Regions from separate parts of the Homo sapiens genome. Here all the other regions are linked to region 2. The links are contacts of gene promoters, found by promoter capture Hi-C in human tissues and cell types (Jung and others, 2019). All regions are on one chromosome and are shown on one strand. Each heading gives the region's core, a stretch centred on a gene start or on the middle of the fragment in contact. The rest is flanking DNA. Distances are from core to core; before and after follow the strand shown. Region 1 holds the start of OR6J1 (olfactory receptor family 6 subfamily J member 1). Region 2 overlaps HAUS4 (HAUS augmin like complex subunit 4). Region 3 holds the start of IL25 (interleukin 25).

The links. The method cuts DNA at HindIII sites, captures the fragments that hold promoters and counts their contacts. A contact is called where the count stands out against the background at its distance.
Region 1: a contact is called between the fragment with the promoter of OR6J1 here and a fragment that was not itself captured in region 2, in 1 of the 25 tissues and cell types used here (spleen).
Region 3: the fragment with the promoter of IL25 here is called in contact with a fragment that was not itself captured in region 2 in 1 of the 25 tissues and cell types used here (lymphoblastoid cells).

Annotation. Positions count from the first base shown.
Region 1 is chr14:22,642,625-22,647,062 of GRCh38, reverse strand. It overlaps OR6J1 (olfactory receptor family 6 subfamily J member 1), which reads left to right and starts at 2,711. Exons shown (of 2, transcript NM_001348233.2): 1 at 2,711-2,965. The HindIII fragment of the contact is 14,040 bases long and covers 2,056-4,438 here.
Region 2 is chr14:22,949,359-22,953,950 of GRCh38, reverse strand. It overlaps HAUS4 (HAUS augmin like complex subunit 4), which reads left to right. Exons shown (of 10, transcript NM_001166269.2): 3 at 1,268-1,410; 4 at 1,492-1,623; 5 at 2,262-2,396; 6 at 3,541-3,637. The region is part of intron 2 of PRMT5-DT (PRMT5 divergent transcript); the gene reads right to left. Among named protein-coding and RNA genes, the nearest start is that of MIR4707, 5.4 kb to the left of the region's middle. The HindIII fragment of the contact is 5,650 bases long and covers 1-4,592 here.
Region 3 is chr14:23,370,763-23,375,476 of GRCh38, reverse strand. IL25 (interleukin 25) reads right to left here and starts at 2,668. Exons shown (of 3, transcript NM_172314.2): 1 at 2,502-2,668; 2 at 2,081-2,301. The coding sequence starts at 2,510. The HindIII fragment of the contact is 4,168 bases long and covers 1-3,420 here.

The DNA of each region.
Region 1 (4,438 bases), core at 1,462-3,961, 310 kb after region 2:
ATTCTTCTACAATGTTTGTGACTTGAACTAGGGTAATGGGGATGGTGATAAGTGGTTGGATTTGACATATATATAAAGGTAGAGCCAGTGGGATTTGCTAATGAATTGGGTATGAGATGTGAGAAAAAGAAATTGCTGAAATTGTTAGATACTATTGCCTGTTCATGGGGGTATATGATGTGAGATTGAAATTAGAAGCTTTTTGGACTAAAATTCATATATACTGAGCAACTTTTGCTTTTCCAGTTAGGCATTATGGGGATTCAAAAATAATTTTATGAAAAAAATCCCTGTTCCCAAGGAACTTAAAAATCTGCCCAGAGGCTAAATAACCACAAATGAAATGATGAAATATATGGCAATAAAAATGAGTCACACACCACAACATGATTGAATTTCAAAACTATAAGGTTGAGAAAAAGATGTCAGACACAAAACAAGACCTATTAGATGATTTCATTTATATGAATTTCCAAAACAGGCAAAACTAATCCATGGTGTTAGAAATCAAGATAATGGTTACAGCTGGGATGTGGGGAGGGAGCTTGAGAAGGATTTCTGGGGTGCTAGTACCATTCTGTTTCTTCACCAGGGTGGTGGTTACATGAATGTGTTCACTTTATTGATAATTCATTGAGCTTATGATTTGTATACTTTTCTGTACATGTGTTATATTTAAATTAAAAAAGGTTAAAAACACTCCAGTTCTACACTGTGGATTCCTGATTCCAAGTGCAAGAAAAGGATATCTAAAGAGGGAGAACCTAGCTTAGGCTAGGAAAAGGGACAAGAGTAGGGCCTAGAGACTAGGCGGTGGAGAAGATGGTCCCAATGGTAGGACACTTGGGGCCCGAGTGTGCAGTAAGAAAGTGAGGGCCAGCGTGGGGCACAGTGAATAGAGTGGCTCAACCGAAGTAAAAGATGCGCAAGGTGATGTGTAAGACAGGAGCTGAGTCTGGGCGGTAATTCAAGGGAGACTGGGATTAGGGGGTCTTGAGTGCCAGGCTATGCAGTGTGGGACCTTTTGTTTCACATAGTGCAAGGTTACTGAAGCTTTGGCATATTGATCACAGTGTATTAGGATGTTGAAGAGGAGGGTCCTGGGTAAATGGAGTGGTAGGGATGGATGGAACTGTCACAGTGGGGCTGGAGAGGGGGTGGATGGAGGACTGTATGCTGTGAGGCTCTCTGAGATAGGCCTGGGGGTGTTGATCTTGGCTAGTGTTCTGTTCCCAGTTCTTGTTAGTGTAGATGTTTAGGTTTGCATCCTTTCCTAAGTGGGCCTCAGGGGCATCAGACTCAGGCTTGGTGTTCAGGGACAGCTTCGTAATGTGCCCCTGAGGAGTGCCCCATGTTTGGAGGTTTCTCAGAAAGTGCATGCTCTCACCTGAGCCAATCCCACCCCAACCCTCCCAAGTGGGGTCCAAACATGGGACCCTTCTAGAGTATGCCCCCTTCAGCCCTGACAGTGCAGAGTCTGTTTGCAGCAACGCAAGCCTCAGCGCCCAGCACGGAAGCCTGGGGCAGCTGTGTGGGCAGGATATGCTGGGGGCCAGCCCCCTCTACCTTATTTAGGCAAATGTGAGTATTTCTGAGTCCTCCCGCTGAATCCCTTCCAGCTTACTGACTCCTCTGTAGAGTGCAGATGGTGGAGGACAGGAAGTAGTTTCTTCATTTCCAGGAATCCTGGGCAACCGAAATTCCCATGTAGAGAAGCATCTTCCCTTTGTCTTCACACTTTGTAGCCAACCAGATATGCTGTCCAAGGGGAGAATAGTTGATTAAGGCAGAAGCATGGGCCTGATGAGATGTATTCCAGAGCCAGAAGGGACAGTATTCTTCCCTCTAGGGTGGGATGATCAATATCTCAGTAGGGACAAGGAAGATAAGGTTTGTTCTTTTCCAGTATTGCAGAATAGGAGGGGTTCTAGAAAATAAAGCAATATGGTGTTTTATGATTTCACACATCATATGAATTATCATACATTTGTTCTTCACGATCCTTGGCAATGATCGATTATCATATGAGTTATCTTATTTTCCGTTTTGTGCTTCTCAACCTCATGAGGAAGAGGAGGAAAAGAGCATTACCGCTGTTTGTCACATGAGGATTCATTTGCAGATAGTATGAAAATGGAGGCAATTTTTCCAGTCTCAAGAATGGTAAAAGGCACAGGTGGGACTTGAACCCAGACTCTTGGCTTCAAGTCCAGAGTTTTCTCATGCACCAGCTACCCCTCAACAGGATTTGACTATCCTGCAGTAACCCTAGAGGAAGTTTAGTCCTTGGGACGCTTGGCCTGCCAGTCTCTGAAAAAAATATGATGGGGATGGTGGTGGTGGTAGTGCACGTTGGGTTGAGGGGACAGAGGAAGAAGCAGGTTGATGGCTGTTGTCCATCAGGTAACACAGTGTTTCTTTTCCCATTTTCTCTGGAATCAAGAAGCACCCAGAAGACTGGGCTGAGCAGAAGACTGGAGAGGGTGCAGGAAAGATGGTAGCAGGAGAGGAGAATAAAGCACCATCCAGGAGCTTAGTGGAGAGTGCCCCTTTTCTCTCCCCAACTGGATCAGATTGTGTAGACAGTGTGGGAGGTGCAGCTGGTCAATGCTTAACCGAAGGTGATTTCCTCACACACTCAGGATTAGGGCAAGAGGATTTGTAGACCTCTCTATGCTGGAATGGATGTCATACCTTGTAACTTCCTCAGCAGTGTAAAAATCCAACATGTACCTTCCAGCTGTCTACAACACAAGTGCATGCTCGTCGGACAAGAGGTCACAGCTAAGGCAACAATCCACATGAGTTGGGAAGGGCTCATTTCACCTGTCAAACACTGCTGCTCTCATGTGGAATGCACTGTGGCTTTTTGGTCAAGATAATTACCGTGGAAGATCCTAGGTGGCAGCAAATCCCAGGTGAACAGACTGAGCCGTGGAGGTGGCATAAGGCAACCCTAGCCGAGGTGAGTGCAGACCAATCGTTTGGCATTTGGGGGCTGGCTGGGAGCAGCTGTTCCTGTTATAATCTCAGGTGTGTATCTTTGCCTTCATTAAGCTTCTTAATATTTCTGATGTGAGGAAATGATTTTCCAGTGGGTGCAGTTGCACCTTATGCAAAGATGTATTTTGAGAGTTAAATGAATTAAGTCTTGATCCCTCATCCTACCATTTCCAGATTTGGTGACCAAGTCCAAATTCATCCTCCATACTATTCTTCTAGATTTTACAGACTGTGCATATATCTACATTTAGTAACTGCTGTCTCTCTCTCTCTCTCTCTCTCTCTCTCTCTCTCTGTGTGTGTGTGTGTGTGTGTGTGTGTGTGTGTGTGTGTGTGTGTGTGTGTTTCTGCCATGCCAGGGGTCAGGGCTTCTTCTTGGGGCTGTGGCCTTTTCTCCTGCTACATTGGTTCTTTAAGATCCTTGGCAATGATCCATGCTATAACATAGATGAACCTTTACAAATATTATAGTAAGTGGCCTGCACCTGTAATCTCAGCACTTTGGGATGCTAAGACAGGAAGATCGCTTGAGCCCAGGAGTTCGAGACCAGCCTGGGCAATATGGCAAAACCCCTATCACTACAAAAAATACAAAAATTGGCCGGGCATGGTGGTGTGTGCCTGTAGTCCCAGTTACTTGGGAGTCTGAGGTGGGAGGATCACTTGAGCCTGGGAGGTCGAGGATGTAGTGAGTTATGATTGCACCACTGCACTCCAGCCTGGGTGACAGAGTGAGACCCTGTCTCAAAAAATAAAAAAAGTAAAATTATTTTCTAATTAAAAAAAAAATTAGGCTAGGCACGGTGGCTCACGCCTGTAATCCCAGCACTTTGGGAGGCCGAGGTGGATGGATCACTTGAAGTCAGGAGTTCGAGACCAGCCTGGCCAACATGGGGAAACCCTGTCTCTACTAAAAATACAAAAATCTGCTGGGCGTGGTGGCAGACGCCTGTAATCCCAGCTACTTGGGAGGCTGAGGCTGGAGAATCGCTTGAACCGGGGAGGCGGAGGTTGCAGTGACCAGAGATTGCACCATTGCACTCCAGCCTGGGTGACAAGAGTAAAACTCCATCTCAAAAAAAAAAAAAAATTATCCAGGTGTGATGGTGTGCACCTGTAGTCCTAGCTACTTGGGAGGCTGAGGCAGGAGGATCACTTGAGCCCAGGAGTTTGGGGCTGCAGTGAGCTATCTTCATGCCACTGCACTACAGCCTCACTGACAGAGCAGGACCCTGTCTCTAAAAAAAATTTAAAAATAAAAATAAAGAAAATATTATAGTAAGTGAAAGAAGCTAGATACAAAGGACCACATATGGTATGATTCATTTATATGAAATGTCCAGAATAGGCAAATCCATAGTCAGAAAGTAGAAAAATAGTTTCCAGGGAATGGAGGAGGGATCATTAAAATATCCTTAAATCTGCCAGGCATGGT
Region 2 (4,592 bases), core at 1,547-4,046:
ACTAAAAATACAAAAATTAGAGGCTGGGCACGGTGGCTCACACCTGTAATCCTAGCACTTTGGGAAGCCGAGGCGGGCAGATCACGAGGTCAGGAGATTGAGACCATCCTGGCTAACAAGGTGAAACCCCGCCTCTACTAAAAATACAAAAAAAAAAAAAAAAATAGCTGGGCGTGGTGGCGGGTGCCTGTAGTCCCAGCTACTTGGGAGGCTAAGGCAGGAGAATGGCGTGAATCTGGGAGGTGGAGCTTGCAGTGAGCCGAGATCGTGCCATTGCACTCCAGCCTGGGTGACAGAGTGAGACTCCGTCTCAAAAAAAAAACAAAAAACAAAAAATATTAGCCAGGCATGGTGGCGCATGCCTGTAATCCCAGCTACTCGGGAGGCTGAGGCAGGAGAATCGTTTGAACCCGGGAGGTGGAAATTGCAGTGAGCCGAGATCACGCCATTGCACTCCAGCCTGGGCAACAAGAGCAAAACTCCATCTCAAAAGAAAAAAATAAAAAAGAATTTGGGCCAGCTGTGGTGACTCACACCTGTAATCCCAGCACTTTGAGATGCCAAGGTGGGAGGATCACTTGAGCCCAAGAGTTCAAGACCAGCCTGGGCAATGTAGTGAGACCCTGTCTGTAAAAAAAAAATTAGCCAGTCATCGTGGTTTGCCTTGTAGTCTCAGCTCCTCAGGAGGTGGAAGGATCGCTTGATCTGGGGAGGTTAAGGCTGCAGTGAGCTGTGATTGTGCCACTGCACTCCAGCCTGGGTGACAGAGTGAGACCCTGTCTCAAAAAGAAAAAAAAAAAATTGGTTAGTTGAACGTTTAACTTACTCTAAGTGTATTCTGTTAGTCTTGTTTATGCGACTACATATCACATCCAAAGTTGGAACTTCACGTGTTGTGTTTCTTTCCCCCTACTTCAAGAACTCTATTAATTTTGGATGAATGAGGCATTTTGTGTATTGTGATTCCTACTAACGGTCCCTTAATTTTTATTCTATTTGTCTAATATGTACCAACTGCATTTCCGTTTCCTAAGATCTTAGTTTATTACTTATTCCCCCTTAATATCCTTGTATATAATATAAATGCTTGTTACCTTGAATATTACCCTTGTTTATTTGTGGATTTTTAAAAAATCTCATTAGATTTAGCAATCTTTCCTATAAAAATCCTAGGGGTTTTTTGGAAGTATTAAGTTATGCTCAGTTATGTAAAGTAAGAGTCCACACCTTTTTTGTTTTTTTGTACCTGTGGGGACATGATGTTAAGTGTGCAGCAAACAACTTCCTCCTTGTAACCTGAGTAAAGAGGACCTGTTACAGAACCCATACTTCAGCAAGCTTCTCCTGAATCTCTCACAGCATGTGGATGAGAGTGGCTTAAGCCTCACCCTAGCAAAGGAGCAGGCTCAGGTAAGGGCTTTGGGAGAAGAGATAAGAAGAAGGGAAAATCCTGAGAGAGAGGTTCCTACCTGAGATTTTTTGGATTTCTAGGCATGGAAGGAAGTTCGACTGCATAAGACAACATGGTTGAGGTCTGAGATTTTACACAGAGTCATTCAAGAGTTGCTTGTGGACTACTATGTGAAGATACAAGACACAAATGTAACTTCTGAGGACAAAAAGGTGAGGCAAAGGCTGGGCGTGGTGGCTAACACCTGTAATCCCAGCACTTTGGGAGCCCCAGGCAGGCTGATCACTTGAGGTCAAGAGTTTGAGACCAGCCTGGCCAACATGGTAAGACCCCGTCTCTACTAAAAATACAAAAATTAACCAGGTGCAGTGGCACACGCCTGTAATCCCAGCTACTCGGGAGGCTGAGGCAGCAGAATCGCTTGAACCTGGGAGGCGGAGATTGCAGTGAGCCGAGATTGCGCCACAGCACTCCAGCCTGGGTGACAGAGCGAAACTCAGTCTCAAAAAAAAGTGAGGTGAAAGAAATGAGGTGGGGTTGGTTACCAGTTACAGGAATGACCAGGCCAACTGTGGCTTTGTCTGATGATGTGATCTAGGGGAAGTAGGAGCTTTGAGAAATGGTTTGTCAAAAGAGAAATGGACTGTAGTTATGGGGAAGGAGTGGATGTGTTATCAGAGTTTGTAATAGAAACATTGACAGAAGTCACTCGCAGCTGAGTTATCTGAGGGGGGATGATATATTTGAGGACTTTGAAAATATGTGAAAAACTGGTTCATAAGGATGGAAGAGGTGGAGTGGGAGAAGTTTTATAGTTGCCTCTTTTTGTTTTTTATTCTCTCTCTCTCAGTTTCATGAGACCCTTGAACAGCGGCTGCTTGTAACTGAACTGATGCGGCTCTTAGGTCCTAGCCAGGAGAGGGAGATACCTCCACTGCTGGGGCTGGAGAAAGCGGACCTTCTGGAACTCATGCCACTCTCAGAGGTTGGCGGGGAGATATTGGAACCAAATAAATGAAATGGTTTAATTTCTCCCATATCTTTAAAATGTTTTTTTTGTCAAGCTTTATTGTTTTTGTAAAAATGATACACATTCAGGGTGGTCAGACTCAAATAAGAAAAACGTTACACAGGAGCAAGTAAAAGCTGAAATACTGCATCTAGAAGCACAATATTATTATAAACAGCTTGACATAAATGGTATTATACCCTTCATGCTTATATAGAGAGTATAAGGCCGAGTGTAGTGACTTCCGCCTATAATCGTAGCACTTTGGGAGGCTGAGGTGGGAGGATCACTTGAGTTCAGGAGTTCAAGACCAGCCTGGGCAACATAGTGAGACCTCGTCTCTACCAAAAAAAAAACAAAACAAAAGCCAGGTTTGGTGGTGCACACCTGTAGTCCCAGCTACTCGGGAGACAGAGGCAGGAGGATGACTTGAGGGTGGGAGGTCAAGGCTGTAGTGAGCTGTGATCATGCCACTGTACTCCAGCCTGGGCACAGAGTGAGACCCTGTCTCAAAAAAAGAAAAGTACAGTCTATTTTCATGTAATATATTTTGGATTTCTTTTCAAGTCAATACATAAATGTAAATAAGATGATAGCTTCTATAGCACTGTTAGCAAAGTATCTAGGCACATAGTGCTTAGTGTTATGTCATCAGTTTAAATCTCTGCTAGGATTCTATTATATGGATGTAGAATAATTTGCTTAACCTTATTGGTGGATATTAAGGTTGTTTCCACATTTTTGCTGTTAGAAACCACAGGGAGATGAACATGCTGGTTCATATGTGTCTTTACCTTTGTATGATTATTTCTGTAATGCTGGTGCTAAAAGTGGGATTCCTGAGTCAGTGCATACTCATACAGAATATTGGTACCTAATGCCAAACTGCTATCCAGAAAGGTATTTTCAGGGCTCCTGGATCCCCCATGTTCTCACCAACATGGGGTCTTGACAGTCATTTTATTCTTCGCTAATTTGATAGGTGAAAAATGAGTCTCTCTGATGTCTCTTGATGCATTTTCTTTGGCTATTATTGAGGTTATCATCATGTATTCATTGGCTGAGACGTCCTAGTTTTTACAGTCTATTCGCATTTCTGCCTTTACTTCTATGACTGTAGGATTTTGTGTGGATGAGGGCTCGGCTACAGCAAGAAGTAGAGGAGCAGCTCAAAAAGAAATGTTTCACTCTGCTCTGCTACTATGATCCCAATTCAGGTGAGTGCTAGCTGTCTGTTCTGCTCACAGCTGGACTTCAGGGTTCCTGGTCTGCTCTTTTGAGAATAATATATTTTGATTTTAGATTTGGGACAGAGGTTTAGAACCATCAGAGATGCTTATTTGTTTTGTTGCTGGTAGAATAAAAACAAGGACTTTTTGTTTTTTTGTTTTTTTTTTTTTTTGAGATGGCGTTTTGCTCCTGTTGCCCAGGCTAGAGTGCAATGGCGCCATTTCTGTTCACCGCAAGCTCCTCCTCCTAGATTCAAGTGATTCTCCTGCCTCAGCCTCCCGAGTAGCTGGGATTACAGGCATGCGCCACCCCGCTCGGCTAATTTTGTATTTTTAGTAGAGATGGGGTTTCTCCATGTTGATTAGGCTGGTCTGGAACTCCCAACCTCAGGTGATCCGCCTGCCTCGGCATCCCAAAGTGCTGGGATTACAGGTGTGAGCCACCACACCCGGCCAAAACAAGGACCTTTGTAAGGACTCTTTTTATTCAGCAAGATACTGAGTGGGAGTGTCCTCCTGCTGCAGGGAAGGATGAGTTCTCTCAGGAGGTTCAGAATGGTTTAGGGAGGAAAGTTCAGACTCATAGAACACCTTATACTCTCTGTATAAGCTTGGAGGGTATAATACCATTTATGTCAAGCTGTTTATAATAATGTGTTTCTAGACGTAGTATTCATATTTCAGCTTTTACTTGCTTCTGTGTAATGATTTTCTTATTTGAGTCTGACCACCCTGAATGAATGTGTATCTCTTTTTTTTTTTTTTTTTTTTTTGAGACGAAGTCTCGCTCTGTCCCCCAGGCTGGAGTGCAGTGGCGCAGTCTCACCTCACTGCAAACTCCACCTCCTAGGTTCACGCCATTCTCCTGCCTCAGCCTCCCGAGTAGCTGGGACTACAGGTGCCCGCCACCACGCCTGGCTAATTTTTTGTATTTTTAGTAGAG
Region 3 (4,714 bases), core at 1,419-3,918, 420 kb before region 2:
ACAAGTCACCTCCCTCCTTTATTAAATTTTCCCCACTGTAAATGAGGGTAGCAGGTGACAGAGTGCTTTCCAACTGGTCCTGGGACCGTGAGGGAGGCAGGGGAGGGTGAGCAGGCTCCTGCCTTAGCCTCCATTGACCAGCACTGCTTCTATCTGACTCAGCATGAGGTTTCTTATTGTAATGATTACACTTTAGGTGTTTTTGTTTGTTTTTTGATTTTTTGTTTTTGTTTTTTTGAGACGGAGTACCCAAGCTGGAGTGCAGTGGCACGATCTTGGCTCAACTGCAACCTCTACCTCCTGGGTTCGAGCGATTCTCCTGATGCCCGCCACCATACCCAGCTAATTTTCATATTTTTAGTAGAGATGGGGTTTCATGATGTTGGCCATGGTTGGCCAGGCTGGTCTTGAACTCCTGACCTTAGGTAATCCACCCACCTCGACCTCCCAAAGTGCTGGGATTACAGGCATGAGCCACCGGGCCGGACTTTAGGTGGTGTTTCTATTATTATTATAGCATTATTGCAAAAGTAAAAACCACTCTGACATCCAAGTATTAAAGAGTATAAAGAGTGAAAGTTAATAGTCTCTCCCTACCAGCCCCACTCCCCAGAAGAAGCTATCCTCAACTATTTCCTGCACATTCTTCCAGACGCTGTGCAAGCTTATATTATAAGCATACTTGAGAGTGCATGGGAAGACTTATTTACTTATTCTGAAAGGATTTCATGGCAAAAAAAAAAAAAGAAAGAAAGAAAGAAAGATGAAAAACACTGAAAAGTAGATGTCCCACAGGTCTGCGACTCCATTAGTCTGGCAGGCGACAGTCTCCAGCTTGTGGGACCATTCCCCACACAGACAAGCCCTGGCAAATGGAATTAGCTAGCACATCACTTCCCAAAGTGGGTTCCCTAATAAATCACCTGCACCTGTTGGGTGCTTAAATGAATTTGGGAAACACCAGTTTAACGGTTTACTTTCTACAGACTTCTTGCAGACTTTAATGTACAATGACAGTATGAATCTCCAAGGGGTAGGAGATACAGCAGTCTTTCCCAAGTTTACCTGGCATCACTTTTTTCTGAGAAGCAGCTCATGGGATGAGCATTGCACAGAACACACTTTGGGGAAAGCCACCTGAGTGGTTCTCGGGTTCACAGACTCCCAGCAAGGGGTCTGGAAGACAGCTGAGTTAACCTCTGGCACCCGCCTCCCCTAAGAAGCTCCCATGCCATCTGATTTGGCCCAGGACCCAGCCAGCTTCTGAGACCACTCCAAAGAGTCATGACCTGTAGTGTCCACACTAGATCCAATCTCAGTTAGATCTGACCCCCTCCCCACCACTGAACTTCTCCATCTACCCCCAAAGCCAATGCTAAGACAGAACTAGAAGGAAGAAGTGAAATCACATGTCTGGAATCCCTAAGACCCTAGTTTTTAATATTTTGCTTCATCATTCATATTTCAGCACTTCCTAATATTTTTCATATCATGGCACAAATAGAGAACTATAATATTTATGTGGCACACTGAGTGAAAGAATACAGTACCCATGATCATGATCAAAGATATCCAGTCCACAGCTCCAGCCAGCCAGCTGCCCCCAAAAGTTAAGGGTTTCACTCCTTTAGTATGCTTATAACTAACCCATTCATGGCCAGGGCAGTATCAATTGGTATTGGGATGCTTCATGCCTGTATCATGCCATTATTCCCTAATATTTTACCCAGAAAAAACATGGGCCATTATAGGGATGTTTTAAAAGAAAAGGAGAGAACCAACATAAATACAGACTTTTACATACATTATATTTCATTTGATCTGCACATTAGCCTATGGGGCATTATATCATTTTGCAGGTGAAAAAAAAAAAAACCCTGAGTTTTGAAAACTTGAATTGACTCAAGATCATCCAATGAGAGTCAGAGCTAGGACTCAAATACAGACCTTGTCTAACTCCCAAACCTTTACAGCCCCTCTGAGATCAAAATGGGAAAGTAAGCTGGAATTGCCCTGGTCCCTCACGCATACCCTGGCCAGCACACACAGGGCAGGCATTCGGGAGGGGCAGCAGACTCACTCATATCTCCAGGGGGAGATGGCCCTGCTGTTGAGGGGTCCATCTTCACTGGCCCTACAGGACTCTGGGTGGCGGTTGGGCCTAGCAGGCTCTAGGGGAGGCACAGGCACAGTGCTCCACCTCAGCAGCTCCTCAGAGGTGTCCTGCCCTTTGCTGGGGCAGCAGCTGGGCCAGTGGCTGTAGGTGTGGGTTCCCATGACCATTGCCAAGAATGCAACCACCTGTAGGAAAAGGCTAATGAGAGAACTGTCCTCACCTAATCTGGGTCGCTCCCTCATCTGCACCCTCCCCCTGGGATCCCAGTTTCTCACTCCACTTGGCCCCCAGCCCCAAACCTGGCAGCTTGGCCTCCCTCCACCCTCAGCAGCATCTCTGCTCCTCTCCCTCTCAGCACAGCCCTCAGGCAGCCCTCTGCACTGACCTGGTACATGCTGGGCACTGCACACTCAGTCACAAGTGGGGCACTGACTGACAGGCCTCGTGGAAGCAGGCTGACTGGAGCAGGTTAGGAGTCCTGATTTTATTTTCAGCAAGCCTGTTTTGTTTATTCAAATTTATTTCCACTGTCTTTTTAGGGAGTGACTTGAGGTTAAAAAACAAAACCAAAAAAACTCTGAAAGTATTTCCAAAGGCTGCTTAAAATGCAATACTCATGGAAGTTGTGATGACCATCATTATATGCCTGGTAGCTGATTGGGTAAACTTTGCTCTTTGAATTTTTCTGGCCATGGGGTCAAAGCAATAACAGTCTGCTGTTCTGCATTCTTGTGAACTGGCATTAGCGGGATTTCCCTGGTTGGTTTGGTAGCCAAAATTAGGAAATGTCTTGTGGCCTCCCTTCAAGAGGCCTCGTTTCCATGATCCCTGCTCCCCCCATCCAGGGTCTGGTTTCACCATTCCCCTCTTCCCAGGTGTCCCTCTGATCATCCACCTTCGTGATTATTTCCTTTCCCTTAGACATCCTTTGACTCCCATCCCCTTTGTTCTCTGACCTCTTCCACATTTTCAATGACCCCAAAATTCTATGACCCCCATCAGCTATGACTTCTCCCCCATTGTCCATGACCCACTCCCTAACTCCCCCTTGCCCTCGCCAGTCACTGCCCCCCACCGGGGATACAAGCCTACCCTCACAGGGCTGCTGGAAGACCCTGACTTCCTAAGTTTGTTGGCTGGATGGGCAAGGTCTGATGGAAGAAGCTGTGGGTGAGTGTCCCCATTGCACAAATGAGAAGGTGAAGCAAGGAAGAGGAGGGAAACTGAAACAGCCTCACCTAAGACCCAACAGGAAGGAGGTCTCAGTTCCAGGAACCAACCTGCTCTCATTCACAGAGCCTTGGGGACCAAGCCCATGACAGGGTCAGCTACTGCTTTCAGGCCATGAAGTGAGCCCACTCAGCCTCAGCAGGTCCAGAAACATGGGCCACTGTTAGCCAGGAGGGTGTATGTGTGCCCCAGAAAGGCTTACAGTTGGGCTTGACCCCAAAGACACAGGTCAGCCGGGTCCAGCCTGCTTGGGAGACACTGTGCTGAGAGTGGGCCAGTGTGTCCTTCCCCCCAGGTCCTTCTCTTCATGCTTGCCTATTGGCCTGCCTCATCCCCCATACGCACCCAACATACCCATACACAGACATTGCCCCTAGAATGATGTGGCTTGATTTGCATGTGCTTTCCCTTAGAAAATACTCCTCTAGTAACCAAGGACTAGGAAATCAACAAAGGGAACCAGGAATAACTTAAACTGCAGTGAGAGGAATCTTTCCAATGCGTTAGGGCAAAGCAGCCCCAAAAGAGAGAAGTGATGAAGTCAAAGGGCAATCTGGAAAATTGGGAGAAACTGCTCTGCTCTGATGAGTCTTGGGGCACCTGGAACTGTGGGATGGAGGGCACTTAGAAGAAGCAGGTGGTGGCTGGGAAAGCAGGGGCACTCAGGAACAGTGATGAGGCCAGTATCATGGCCCCACTCTCACTGCCTCACCCTCTGCCCCCAGTACTCGCAGACGTCCTCTCCCTTCCATATCCTGCTGGCCTCAGCTCCTGTGCACTTACATGTGCCAGGCATGGTGCTAAGCCCTGGGCATGCATCATCTCATTTTATCCCGACAATGAAACCATGACATGGAAACTATTATCCCCATGTTACAGATGAGGAAACTGAGGCCCAAGGAAATTTAGTAACTTACCCAAGATCACAAAGAAAGAGGCTGAGCTGGTTTCCCATTCCAGCTCTGACCAATTCCACATGTAACCTCCTGGCATGGAAGTGCCACACCGTGCCTACCCCTAGTTGGCTGTGAATGGAAGGGGAGCCCCACAGTGAATGCTTTCCTGCTCACCTGGGCTTGGGTTGGGACAAGTTTCAACTGCACCTGCTGAGGGCCACAGGGTGTGTCTGCCCACTTAGGTATCCAGCCCTGCTGTTCGGATTCACTGCACTAGCTCCCTTTCCTAGCCTTTTGTCTGGCAGACATGGCCTCAAGGTGGCTTCCCGTGCTCCTGGGAAAACCTCAATCCCAGAACAGGATCTTAGGAGGCAGTGCCGTTTCAGAAGAGCTGGATACCTATGGGTCTCGCTCTCACCAATCAGAACCTCAGGGCTAAGAAGGTAGTAGAAATGGAGTTGGCTCAGATCTC